2 separate regions of the Homo sapiens genome follow, and region 2 is linked to region 1. The links are contacts of gene promoters, found by promoter capture Hi-C in human tissues and cell types (Jung and others, 2019). All regions are on one chromosome and are shown on one strand. The core of a region is centred on a gene start or on the middle of the fragment in contact, and the rest is flanking DNA. Distances in the headings are between cores, read along the strand shown. Region 1 holds the start of CARM1 (coactivator associated arginine methyltransferase 1). Region 2 holds the start of ZNF700 (zinc finger protein 700).

Region 1 (6,831 bases), core at 1,436-3,935:
TTTATCAGTTTTACTCTTTTAAGCCTCATAGCAGCCCTAGGAAGTGGTGGGTACTAGCATTCTGCCCGTTTTGCAGAAGGGGAAACTGAGGTATAGAGGGGTGAAGCCACACAACTGAGGTTACACTGCTATAAAGTGAAGGAACTGGTGTTTGAATCCATGCTCTCTGGTCCCCAGTTTAGCAGAGAGGAAGGCAGGAGAAGGGAAGACCAGGACAGGTGGGTGTGGGTGGGGGCGGGATGAGAGGAGACCTGCTGGGCTGGCAGAGTCTCAGGCTCAGAACATGGAGAAACCCTAGATCCTGAAACCCCAAATCACCCACTTCTGTGTTTCTTCTTACATGGACAAAGAAAACGATGCCAGAAGAAGACCCGGCCACCTTGGATGATCACTCAGGCACCACTGCCACCCCCAGCAACTCCAGGACCCGGAAGAGGCCCACTTCCACGTCCTCCTCGCCTGAGACCCCCGAATTCAGCACTTTCCGGGCCTGCCAGTGAGGCTGAGGACTGGGGGACCCCTCTGTCTCCAGGCATTCGGGGGCCTGAGGTCCCTCCAGCTACTTCTGGGGGGGCTCTGTCAGCCACTTTCTCAGGGAATTGGACAGAGGAAAGGAAGGGGAACCCTGGCCTTGGGATTTTCATCACAGAGGAGTGGGAGAGGGGACACAGGCATGGGCCTGGCACTATACAGACAACAGGAAGTTCCCCTCTCGACCTTCGGCTCCTCAGGACCACCAGAGAAGGAGATGTCAGGACCCCTTCTTGTCCCCCAGCTGGGCCATAAGACGTCCCAGGTCTCTGCACACCCGTGGAATTCCTCCCTTCCCCAGTGGGTTTTTGAGCATAGGGTGCCCTTGGGTGTGTTGTGTGTCTGCCTGCTGGCTTGCTTAAGTTATTAATTATAACACGGGTCAAGGTGTTCCCAGGCCTCTATGGAGTGGAATCCTTCAAGCTGGGGACCTCTGGATCCCATGGTTGGATGGCTGGGGGGTGGAGCGTGTCTGAATTCACCAAATTTGAAGCATCTCTCAAGGGCAGTCAGGGTGGTGTATGCGGAGCCTCCTGGGGGTGTGGGGAGTGCAGCAGTGCCATGCCAGGGTCTCTGCAACGGTACTTGCATTAGAGGGTTTAGGAGGTGGAATGACAGGGGCTACGGGTGAGGGACATGAAGGAGAATGAGGGCCCCTCGCAGTGGCTCACACCTATAATCCCAGCACTTTGGGAGGCCGAGGCAGGGGGTTGCTTGAGCCCAGGAGGTTGAGGCTGCAGTAAGCTATGATGGCACCACTGCACTCTAGCCTGGGCAACACAGTGAGACCCTGTCTCAAAAAACAAAAGGGGCCGGGCGCGGTGGCTCATGCCTGTAGGCCCAGCACTTTGGGATGCCGAGGCGGGCGGATCACCTGAAGTCAGGAGTTCAAGACCAGCCTGACCAACATGGTGAAACCTCGTCTCTACTAAAAATAAAAAATTAGCTGGGCGTGGTAGAGCATGCCTGTAGTCCCAGCTACTCGGGAGGCTGAGGCAGGAGAATCACTTGAACCCGGGAGGCGGAGGTTGCGGTGAGCTGAGATCGAGCCATTGCACTCCAGCCTGGGAGACAGAGCGAGACTCCGTCTCAAAGAAAAAAAAAAAAAAAAAAAAGGAATGAGGCGTAAATGAGGTCTAGGGAAGAGTTAAAGCTGGAGTGCTAGGAAGTGGCCCAAGCTCACTGGGTCGCCCAAAAGAGATGGGGCCACCCAAAATGAAGGGGGATGCAGAGAGAAGACGGGTTTGTGTGGCGGGAGAGGGGCCCTGCGCCGGGCCAGGCTGGACTCAGCATCGTTGGAGGAGGGGCTGAGAGAGGAGGGGGTCAAAGGATATCTTGTGCGAAAGGAGACAGTCAAACATTAAGGATTAAGAAGGCAATGTGGGCAGAGATGATGGGGAAGGGAGGAGGAGCGGTCGAATGTCGGGGAGGGGTCCTTTCAACCGGGCTCAGGTTGCTCCTGGAGGCCAGGGCTCATCGGAAATCGTCGGTGCGGGGGCGGTGGGGGGAAGGGTTGGGGGCGAGGCCCGGGCGCTGGCCACGCCCTTTCCCCCGCCCATTCCCCAGAGCGGGGCGGCTGACAAAGCGAGTCCGGGTGGGAGGGCGCGGGCAGGCACGGGGGCGGGGCCTCGTCGCGGCTGGGCCACGCCTCCCTGAGGGCTGCCTCACAAAGCCGGGCGGGCCCGGGGGGGTGGGGCCCAGTCTCAGGGGCGTGTCCAGGTCGGGGCAGGGAAGCCGCATCACGACGCGCGGCTGCTTGTGTGGGGCGGGGTACAGGGCGTGTCCACGCGGCCGAGCACCGCCCCCGCCGTCCCCGCACCGCCTCACTCGAAAGCAGCCGTTAATGAGGCGCCGGCCTGGGGGCGGGGCCCAGGCCTCCGAGGGGCGTGCCCGCGCGCCCGAGCACCGCCCCCGACGTACCCTCCCGCCCCGCAGTTCCCGGGCGGTGGAGCCACCTCACAAAGCGGCGACCGTTCTCGCGGGGCGGGGCGTAGCCGGTCCCGCCCCACGGGGTGCCCTCTCGTTCGCTCGCTAGCTCCCCGCGCCCAGGACGGCCGGCAGAGGGCGCTGCGCCACGGGGCCGGGCCGCGGCGACGGTGGCGGCGGCGGCGGCGAGGCGGCGCGTGGCCGGCAGGCGGCGCTGCCCGGCTCGGCCTCGGCCTGCACGGCGGCTGCGGCGGCGGTAGCGGCAGCGGCGGCGGCGGCGGCGGCGGCGGCGGCGGCGGCGGCGGCGGCGGCGGCAGCGGCGGCGGCCTGGGCCCGGGCGCAGCGGCGGCGGCGGCGGGGCCTGGAGCCGGATCTAAGATGGCAGCGGCGGCGGCGGCGGTGGGGCCGGGCGCGGGCGGCGCGGGGTCGGCGGTCCCGGGCGGCGCGGGGCCCTGCGCTACCGTGTCGGTGTTCCCCGGCGCCCGCCTCCTCACCATCGGCGACGCGAACGGCGAGATCCAGCGGCACGCGGAGCAGCAGGCGCTGCGCCTCGAGGTGCGCGCCGGCCCGGACTCGGCGGGCATCGCCCTCTACAGCCGTGAGTACGGGGCCCCGGGGCAGGCGCAGGGCCGGGGCTGCTCACGAGGCCGGCCCGGGGCGGGGGCCGGCGGGGAGGGGCCCTGAGCGCGGGGGCCTGGCGTGGGGTCCCCGGGACTGAGCCGGTGGCCTGCAGGGAGCGACCGTGGAGGGCCGGTGCCAGGGGACAGACAGAGAAAAGAGGGCGTGCGTGGTGGCCGGAGGGGCAAGGTGCCCAGAGTGAGCAAGGGAGCGCGAAATGGGGAGTGAAGGGCCTGAGATTTGGGAGGGGTGGGTGAGCAGGAAGTGGGGGGCTCTGAGTGGAAGGGGAATTTGGAGGACGCCAGGCGTGGTGGGCTTAAGCGTGGGGGAGGGAGGTCCGGGGTGCGGGAGAGGTGGGCGTCTCGGGGGCGGGCGTGGCCGCCTCTGCAGGGAGGAGGGTGGGGCGTGGGCGGCCCGGGATCCCTCTGGGGACCCCCTGGATAGCTCAGGACGGTTGGAAAGTGTTTGCTGGTCTGGGGCGCCCGCGAGTACCGAGTTCCACCGCTGTGCGAGGTGTGGCGTTCAGGACCCCCGAATGGGAAACTTCAGGATCTGGGGAGAGGGCCCATGCGGGGACGGTGGGAGCCGCAGGGTGAGCTCCTCGTGGAAACGTGGACGGGACGGGCCCCTTCCTGATGCCGGGCTTCGAAGTAAGAGCTAACAGCCTCCTCCCATCTTCTTTTGGGGGATGTGAGAAGCTGGTTACATTTTCCGAAGCTGCTTTCAAAACTGACATTTCACTGGGGGGAAAAGAAAATCACAAATGCGTTTGCCAGCACCCCCCACCCCCGCTCCCAGTCTTTGTAGTTCATTCTTCTTCTTGTTACTCCTTCTTATCTCTTCTCTTTGATTCCTTGTTCACATTTTGCTACTCTGTGTCATTTGGCTTTGTCTTTCAGGGCTTCTTGCACTGATGCCCTGGGGAACCCCTCAGGAGGCCTCTAGCTAGCTTGGGTCCTGTGTGAATTTTTTGCCACTTTGGAAACGGCCCGATTAAAGGAAAGCCCGAGGAGCAGTCCGTTCACACTGGGTTTTCCCTGCACCTCGACTTTGAAAACGTGGACTAAAGGAGTTGTGTCTGCTGTCCGAGGGTGCCGTCTCTTTTTGCTGGTGCAGAGCCTGGGTCTTCTTGGACCAGATGAGAGGGGAAGGAGGGTATTTCAGCGGGGGTTTCAGAGTTCAAGGCAGACACTCAGCTCAACAGAACCCCAGATCATAAGCAAAACCTATTCACTGGGCAAGCATTGGTAGCCAACTTTGTCCTGAACAGAACAAAGCGGGGCAGCGTTTCCAAAACTAGGGTCCCAGGGCTTATCCTCAAAGGAGTTCCAGGAGAGTTGGCTATCATTTTTAAGTAAACCTTTAAAAAATTTTTTTAGGACCAGGCGGGGTAGCTCAGCACTTTGGGAGGCTAAGCACTTTGGGAGGATCACTTGAGGTCAGGAGTTCGAGACCAGCCTGGCCAACATGGTGAAACCCCGTCTCTACTAAAAATACAAAACAGCGGGGTGTGGTGACATGTGCCTGTCCCAGCTACTCGGGAGGCAGAGGCAGGAGAATCACTTGAACCTGGGAGGCAGAGGTTGCAATGAGCTGAGATCGTGCCATTGCACTCCAGCCGGGGAGACAGAGTGAGACTCCATCTCAAAAAAAAAATTTTTTTTAGAACAATTTTAGTTTAGTTTTTTTTTTTTTTTTTTTTTTTTTTTTTTTTTGAGACAGAGTCTTGCTCGGTCCCCCAGGCTGAAGTGCAGTGGCTCAATCTCGGCTCACTGCAAGCTCTGCCACCTGGGTTCACGCCATTCTCCTGCCTCAGCCTCCCGAGTAGCTGGGACTACAGGCGCCTGCCGCCATGCCCGGCTAATTTTTTGTGTTTTTAGTAGAGACGGGGTTTCACCATGTTAGCCAGGATGGTCTTGATCTCCTGACCTCGTGATCCACCCGCCTTGGCCTCCCAAAGTGCTGGGATTACAGGCATGAGCCACCCCGCCCGGCCAGAACAATTTTAGTCTTATAGATGTATTGGCAACATAGTGAGATGTTCCTACCATCTTATTCCTGGAGTAACATTTTGTGTTTGTATTTGTGTTTTTGTTTTTGTTTTGTTGATACTCTTGAAAGTATTACTTGTTATTAAGACAGCACTTCTCTTTGAGAGGTAATTGGTAACTGAAACATTTTTTATTATTAGAGACAAGGTTTCACTATGTCACTGTGTTGCCCAGGCTGGTCTCCAACTTCTGAGCTCAAGTGATCTTCCTGCCTCCCAGAATGCTGGGATTACAGGTGTGAGCCACCCCACCTGACCGGAAACATTCATAAAAAGGAGAAAGTCCACATTCCTCAGAGAGCCTCAGTCCCAGATTCCCAGATGATATATCCTTAGGGTTCTGAAATAATTTTTTTTTACACTTTTTTGTTTTTTTTCTTTCTTTTTTATTTTTTTTATTTTTATTTTTTATTTTTTCAGACAGGGCCTCACTCTGTTGCTCAGACTGGAGTGCAGTGGTACAGTCTCAGTCTCAGCTCACTGCAGCCTTCCATGGCTAAAGTGATCCTCATACCTCAGCCTCCCTAGTAGCTGGGACCACAGGCATGTGCCACACCCAGCTAATCTTTCATATTTTTTGTAGAGAAAGGGTTTTCACTGTGTTGGCCAGGCTGGTCTCAAACTCCTGGGCTCAAGTGATCCTCCCTCCTTGGCCTCCCACAGTCCTGGAATTACAGGCATGAGCCACCGCACCGCCCTCTTTATCCTTAAGTAACATTGATATGGAGATAAAAAACATGGGTTCTTGGCCAGGCGTGGTGGCTCACACCTGTAATCCCAGCACTTTGAGAGGTTGAGGCAGGCGAATCACTTGAGGTCAGGAGGTTGAGACCAGCTTGGCCAACATGGCAAAATCTCGTCTCTGCTAAAAATGCAAAAATTAGCCAGGTGTGGTGGTACCTGCGACTGTAGTCCCAGCTACTCCGGAGGATGAGGTGGGAGGATCGCTTGAACCAGGGAAGCAGAGGTTACAGTGAGCTGAGATTGCACCACTGCATGTCAGCCTGGGTGACAGAGCAAGACCCTGTCTGAAAAAAAAAAAAAAAGCATGGGTTCTGGAGTTGGAGGTGATCAGTGCTGGGTGTATTAATTTCCCATGGCTGCAATAACAAATTATGACAGATTTTTGGTTTAAGACAACAGGAATGGATTCTCTCTCAGTTCATGGTCAGAAGTCTGAAATCATGGTACTGGCAGGGCCACAATCCCTGGAGAGGTTCTACAGGAAAATCCTTGCATCTTCCAGATTGCAGTGGATCCAGCTGTTGCTTGATTTGCAGCAGCGAAACCCAAGTCCCTGCGTCTGTCTTCACTCCTGTGTCTTGTGTCCTCTTTTTTCCTTTTTTTTTTAAAGTGAGATGGAGTCTCGCCGTGTTATAGGCTGGTCTCGAACTCCTAGGCTCAAGTGATCCTCCCACCTCAGCTGTTCTTTTCTTTTCTTTTTTTTTTTGAGACGGAGTCTGGCTCTGTCACCCAGGCTGAAGTGCAATTGCGCGATCTCCGCTTACTGCAAGCTCTGCCTCCTGGGTTCAGGCCATTCTCCTGCCTCAGCCTCCCGGGTAGCTGGGACTACAGGCGCCCGCCACCACGCCCGGCTAATTCTTTGTATTTTTAGTAGAGACGGGGTTTCACCGTGTTAGCCAGGATGGTCTCCATCTCCTGACCTCGTGATCTGCCCACCTTGGCCTCCCAAAGTGCTGGGATTA
Region 2 (6,831 bases), core at 3,146-5,645, 1.1 Mb after region 1:
ACCGCATCTCTACCAAAAATACAAAAAATTAGCCGGGCATGGTAGTCCCATTCTCACAGTCACAGAAAGGTTCTTTCTTAAGGATTCCACCTGCTGGAAAGCATTATATACTACCAGAACTTGTTCAATTCAAGAGTGTCTGGTCTCATCTCCATGTCATAATTACAACCAAAATCCTAAAGGGACTGATTTACCACACTGTGGGTGCCATAAGGCCCAATTTTTACCCTCAGCAGCAGCTGTAACATCCCAAGTTACAGCTCTACCCTCCAAAGATGTGCCTGAGGCTTGTGCCTGCCATACTAACATGTTAATATGTCCAAAGCTTCCTGCAGAGCTGTGTCCCAGTCCCAAAGTGCCCCTTTCTAATAAGTCTATATATTGGTCTCAAACATTGGACTCAGTGTCAGATAAATGCTCTCCAATAATCCAAAGACTAACAAATGTCTGGATTTCTTTTCTCCTTTTTTTTTTCTTTAAGAAACATAGTATGGCTCTGTTTCCCAGGCTAGAGTGCAGTGGTGGGATCATAGCTCACTGCAGAAACTCCTAGGCCCAAGGGATTCTCCTGCCTCAGCCTCCCAAGTAGCTGGGAATAAAGGCACATGCCACTATGCCCGGCTGTTTTTAAATTTTTTGTGCAGATGGAGTCTCACTATATTGCCCAGGCTGTTCTTGAACTCCAAGGCTCAAGTGATCCCCCTACCTCAGCCTCCCAAAGTGCTGAGATTACAGTCATGAACCAATGCTCCCAGCCCTGAAATGGAAAATTTCTTTTGTTTGTTTGTTTGTTTGTTTGTTTGTTTTTTGAGACAGAGTCTCACTCTGTCATCCAGGCTGGAGTGCAGTGGCATAATCTCGGCTCACTGCAACCTTCCAACTCCCGGGTTCAAGCGATTCTCTGCCTCAGCCTCCTGAGTAGCTGGGATTACAGGCACCTGCCACTACGCCCAGCTAATTTTTGTATTTTTAGTAGAGACAGGGTTTCACCATCTTGGCCAGGCTAGTCTTGAACTCCTGACCTCAGGTGATCCACCTGCCTCGACCTCCCAAAGTGCTGGGATTACAGGCATGAGCCACTGCGCCCGGCCCTGAAATGGAAATATTTCAAAGGGAAAACATCTAACGTTCAAGTTATTATCTATAGAGCAGTTAACAGGAACTATCATTTAGGGTCCATCGTGAGGCAGAAATTTAAAAATAATAAGTACTGAATTTATTTACTCCAAGAAAAGTAAAAGCTAAGGCCCAGAGTGTGGCAAGGCAAGGGTTAAAAAGAAAAAAGAAAAGCACAAGTTTTCCTCTGCCTAGCAGCTCACTTCCAGGACCTTATCAAGAAGATAACGATGTCCAAATAGCCAAGGCCAAAGGAATGGGCTCCAGACACCCCTCCCTTCCAGAGCAATGTTGAAGGAAAAAAAAAAAAGAGACAGATTCTTTTACTGTTACTCTTTTGCAAGTCTTCTTAAGCATTATTATGTTTTACAAATGTCTGTATTTAGCCAGTTCTTGTTTTTCTTTCAATGCAGCTACAAGGACACTGGCTATGCAAGGTCATAAATTATGTTATGCTATAGATTACATGACCTGTCACTGTATGATTAACTGCTTTTGTTTGGCATCTGTAAGACAGCGTATAAAAACCCCACTTTGTCTTCGTTCAGTCCTCAGCTTTTTGGATATGAATCGTCTGAGCCAGTGCGTACCTAAAATATAAACAAATCCTCCTGTACTCCATATTGGTCTCTCCTTCCTCAGTTTACCACAACAATGGGATTCTAGGACACTAGGTATGAAGCAAATATGAGGAAGTTCAGGGAACAAGCTGACTTAATGATTAATGCTGAAGGTTCTGCAGCTTGGTTTAAGTTTTCTCCTCCCATCCTCCCTGATGAATTTGATAAAGTTTAAAGGGATGGTTTCACCAGGGGCCTTTTCCATTGACTGCAAGGAGGTCATCCGCCTGGTAAATCCTCAGTAGGCCAAGCCTCTTATGTGGCCAGAATGATCCAGTCCATAAGGAAATACCACCTGCTGTGTTTTACAATTAGACCATCCAAGGGGGTCAGGGTTTCCCCGGGGAGTCTGGTGGGCTTTTTATGGGTTTTTTTGTTTTTGATTTTTTTTTTTTTTGAGACAGTGTCTTGCTGAAGTTCAGTAACCTGATCACAGCTCACAGCAGCCTCAAACTTTGGGGCTCAAGTGATCCTCCTGCCTCAGCCTCCTGAGTAGCTGTGATTACAGGTACACACCACCTCTCCTGGCTAATTAAAAAATAGATTTATGGAGATGGGAGTGTCTCACTTCACTGCTCAGGGTGGTCTTCAACTTCGGGCTTCAAGTGATCCTGCCACTTTGGCCTCCCAAAATGTTGGGATTGCAGGCATGAGCCATGGCACCTGGCCTCCCAGGCTGTTGTTGAAAGGTCTTTGCAATCTCTAAGAGTTCTGCAGCAGTTTATTCCCTGACAGCGAGAGTCTCATCCTTTGATCCCATTTTGCAGCAGTAGTTGGGTGTTCACTTTTCTTTCCATAAGGAAGCAAGCTTGCCAGTGACCCTCATCCCCCTCCTCATCGATGACTTCTTTGTCATCAGAGCCTTCCTCTTCATAAATTCCCACGGAATCCAAGTTTTCACGTCCCGATTGGGCTTAGTTATGATAGCTACTGGCTCACACAAGCTGCAACAGCACCCCGTCCCATGGAAGCCACCCGACTCTCTCCTCCCTGAGTTTCCTGTCCTGGGAGCCCCCATCTCTGCTCTCCCGGGCTCCGGGCCCTAGAGCCGCACTGCTGCAGAGCCCAGTTCCCAGGGCAGCTCCCTCCACCTATCCACATCCATCTCCAGCTCTCCACCCTCTCTCCCACCAGCCTGGCCTGGAGGTGCTGCAGTGTCATTGACTGCGAGTCCCTCAGCTGCCACCTCCACCGCGATCTGGAAGTCTTTCAAATGCCCTTAAGTTATCTTAGATTTTTCCTCCCCCACTTTATACATAAGCATAGGAGGAGAGCAGGGACTCTGCTGGTGTCTTATTTACACAATGGGATTGAAGGTGTTTGTCTCGCGAAACTAATCGATGGGGTGAGAAGTAGCTGAATAACCTGCAGGGGGCAGCAGAGCCCAAGGCCAGTGATTCCACGTTGAGGACAGTCTCTGCAGCCTGCAAAGGGAGGGAAAGAGAGTTTCCCTGGGGGCTTCGCGGGCAGCCCACCCCCTTCTACAAGTGGCCTCCAGCTGCTCAGAGCAGCTCCAGAAAGGGTGTGGATTCCGAGAAGCTGCAGAGCCCTGGAAAGCAGAAGACCCATGTGCAGACGCATTTGTGGCGTCTCTGTCCTTTCTGGTGTTGTACCTCTGGAGCTGTCTTCTGGGCAGGGTTTGGGGTTTGACATGCATGGGGTCGTTGGGGTCAGAGTTATTTGTATAGATAAAGAAAATGTGTGGCCGGGCGCGGTGGCTCACGCCTGTAATCCCAGCACTTTGCGGGGCCGAGGCGGGCGGATCAAGAGGTCAGAAGATCGAGACCATCCTGGCTAACACGGTGAAACCCCGTCTCCACTGAAAATACAAAATATTAGCCGGGCGTGGTGGCGGGCGCCTTTAATCCCAGCTACTCCGGAGGCCGAGGTAAGAGAATGGCGTGAACTCGGGAGGCGGAGCTTGCAGTGAGTCGAGATCGCACCACTGCACTCCAGCCTGGGCTACAGAGCAAGACTCCGTCTCAAAAAAAAAAAAAAAAAAAGAAAGAAAGAAAAGAAAATGTGTGAAGATCAGGCTAGAGCTAGAGACAGAATTGTTTGGTGGCGTCACCTGGATAAAGGGTTCATGAAGTTGACAGTTTACTTAGGTCAGAAACAAAACCTGGTGAGAGTTTCCTGCTGGTGAAAATGAAGATCTGAAAGGAGGAAGCATTTTCACAAGGGGATGGGGGTGTGTGAGCAAGGCTTGGCCACGCCTCATCCCCAATTCCGGCCCGCTCGAGGACATATGCCTCTCCTCCTGGTGCAGTCGTGCCTGGCCTGGTCTCGGTTCCCCTGCTGCTCTGAGGCCAGCAGTTGGCTCCTATGGACACTGAGTCTGAAATTCCCTGCACACTCCTGTGACCCCGTGCAGAACGAAGGAGCGGGGACTGTCCCTTGAGTGAGGATGACGCTAGTGTTCTCTTCTATCAATAGCAAGTTTGGCTGAAATGCAAATATCCAATAACCAGAGTGCAGAAAGCAGCTCGCCCTTAGAGAAGCTGTGGCTAGAATCCGTCAGTCTGGCTCTGCGGGGCCTGATACCCAGGGCTTCAGCTGTCACTCAGATGTGGGGGGCGGGACCTAGTATTTCATCCAATCAGAGGTGCTGGGGCGTGGCACTGCCCACAGTTCATCCGGAAATGGAGGGGGTCGCTTTCCTCACCTTCCTCGCTGCGCGGGCGGCGGTTGGTAACCGGTCAGACCAGCCCGAGAGGGACCTGGTGCCTGTACCCAGGCTTCTGTCGCTCTGTCGCCTGCGCTATGCCCTGCTGTAGTCACAGGAGCTGTAGAGAGGACCCCGGTACATCTGAAAGCCGGGAAATGGTGCGTGTGCGGGACCAGATGTCGTGAGACGGGGGAGGGGCTGCCTGGAACAGGCGGGAACCGGCTGTGGCGGGACCCGGGCCTCCCTGTGGGCGACTCCGGGGTCTGGGACCGAGTCCTCCTTGAGCAGTTCGGCCCTCGGTCCCCTTGGCCGCTGGACGGGGCTGGGCCAGCAGCCAGGACCCGGGCGTCCTGTCCCGTCCCTGCGCGGCGACTGCGGCCGCGGCCCCTGCCCCGGAGCCCTCTCTGGGCAGTTCCGCTCCCGCAGCCCCGCGTCTCCCCAGATTGTGCGGAAGCAACGGGAGGGTCATGGAGGCATCCTGACTCGGGTGTGGGGTTCGTGCGTGGGAGGAGCAGTGGTCTGTGGGGCCCCCAGTCCCCACTTTCTCCTGTTAAAAATTAAACTGAGGTACGTTAACAATTAAAGAGTTCATTTGAGCAAACAGCGATTCACGAATGAGAAACACCCCGTCCTGGGTTGTGGTTTGTCAACGGAAAAAGCCAAACTATGTAAAATAAAGAAGTTTATTCAGAGCCGAATAGGAGAGACCTTGGCCGAGGGAAACACAACCCCAAGCAGCCTGGAGTAAGTGGTCCCGAGGCGGCTCAAGACAGTTTGGTTTTATTCATTTCAGAGAGACAGGAATTGCAGGGAAAATGATGAATCAGTGCCTGAAAGGTGTAAGTTCCATTGGCAGAAAGGGTGGGACCTGTGGAAGGGGGGTTAGAAGGCACAGGTGGTTGAGGGATTCTGTAGGTGGCAGCTGGTTGAGAGTGTGAAGTTTGTCTAAAGTTTGGAGGAGGTAGGAAGGAAGGGGGTCTGTTATCTGCCACTTGATTCCATCCCAGCCAGAAAACAGACCTGTTTCTCTAGATTTTATGAATTCTGAGGCGTGACTTTACTTTTGCCTTGCGTGGCCTTAGGTTTTGTTTGTAAGTTAGTATCTTCTTGCCACAAGCAGTCTGTTTTTCCATTCTATCTATTTTTACATGAATGTGTGGGAGAGGGTATAAGGAGACCTGTCTCACCTCCCATCCTGTCATACAGAGGCACTCAATTTTCAGGGTTTTTTGCGGGTCCTGTTGGCCAAGAGCCGGTCACTTCACTTAGCTGGAAAGGTACTTTGTTTTTATTTGAGACGGAGTCTCCTGTCGCCCAGACTGGAGTGCAATGGCCTGATCTCGGCTCACTGCAACCTCCACCTTCCGGGTTCAAGTGATTCTCCTGCCTCAGCCTCCTGAGTAGCTGGGATTGCAGGCATGCACCACTATGCCCTCCTAATTTTTGTATTTTTAGTAGAGATGGGGTTTCACCATGTTGGCCAGGCTGGTCTCGAACTCCTGACCTCAAGTGATCCACCCACCTCAGCCTCCCAAAGTGCTGGGATTACAGATGTGAGCCATCTCGCCGGGCCAGAGGTATGTTTTTATTTTTAGTTTACCAGTTTAGGGGTAAGCTTTTATAAGTTACGTGAGGAGACAAACCAGATAAATGCTTGATTGGTTGCAGAGATGCAGTTGCCTTATTTGGACTTGTCACTCCGAAATAATAGAAAGGTCAAGATTTCAGTTGGAAGAGTTTATTCAAGCGGAAGGATAGCAGTGGCCCATTTGGGAAAAACACAGACTCTAGGGAAATAGACTCAGTACTCCAAAACTGGAAGTTAAGTTCTTGCTTGTATTACCAGGAAAAGAGGTCCTGATCAGACCCCAGGAGAGTTCTTGAATCTCACACAGGAAGGAATTCAAGACGAGTCACAAAGTGCAGTGAGAAGAGAGTTTATTGAAAGCTACTCTGGGCCAGCATGATGGCTTAGGCCTGTAATCCAAGCACTTTGGGAGGCCAAGGTGGGAGGATAACTTGAGGTCAGGAGTTCGAGACCAGCCTGGGCAACATAGTGAAACCCCATCTCTTCCAAAACTAGCAAAAATTAGCCGGGTGTGGTGGCCTGCACCTGTAGTCCCAGGTGTTCAGGAGGCTGATGTGAGAGAATCACTTGAACCCCAGAGGCAGAGGTTGCAGCCCAGCCGAGGATGTACCACTGCACTCCAGTGTGGGTAACAGAGTGAGACCCCATCTCAAAAACCAAAACAAACAGGAAAGAGGTCAAGACCAACCTGGCCAACACAGCGAGACCCTGTCTCTATTTAAATAAATAAATAAATAAATAAATAAATAAATAAATAAATAGAAAAGGAAAAAGAAAGAAAAAGCTTCTCTGTTTCAGAGTAGGGCATCCTCATACAGCAAGTGGAGGAACGTACTGTC

Evidence for each region. The method cuts DNA at HindIII sites, captures the fragments that hold promoters and counts their contacts. A contact is called where the count stands out against the background at its distance.
Region 2: the fragment with the promoter of ZNF700 here is called in contact with the fragment with the promoter of CARM1 in region 1 in 1 of the 25 tissues and cell types used here (pancreas).

Annotation. Positions count from the first base shown.
Region 1 is chr19:10,868,868-10,875,698 of GRCh38, forward strand. CARM1 (coactivator associated arginine methyltransferase 1) reads left to right here and starts at 2,686. Exons shown (of 16, transcript NM_199141.2): 1 at 2,686-3,055. The coding sequence starts at 2,836. It overlaps C19orf38 (chromosome 19 open reading frame 38), which reads left to right. Exons shown (of 7, transcript NM_001136482.3): 7 at 351-923. The coding sequence ends at 500. RefSeq lists silencers at 1,946-2,735, 2,866-2,915, 3,006-3,215 and enhancers at 3,956-4,135, 4,776-4,895, 5,433-5,933, 5,934-6,434. The HindIII fragment of the contact is 23,799 bases long and covers 1-6,831 here.
Region 2 is chr19:11,920,712-11,927,542 of GRCh38, forward strand. ZNF700 (zinc finger protein 700) reads left to right here and starts at 4,396. Exons shown (of 4, transcript NM_144566.3): 1 at 4,396-4,562. The coding sequence starts at 4,500. It also overlaps a transcript of ZNF69 not described here. RefSeq lists enhancers at 2,302-3,092, 3,093-3,882, 4,039-4,611, 4,059-4,108, 4,159-4,268 and a silencer at 4,659-4,858. The HindIII fragment of the contact is 4,963 bases long and covers 1,435-6,397 here.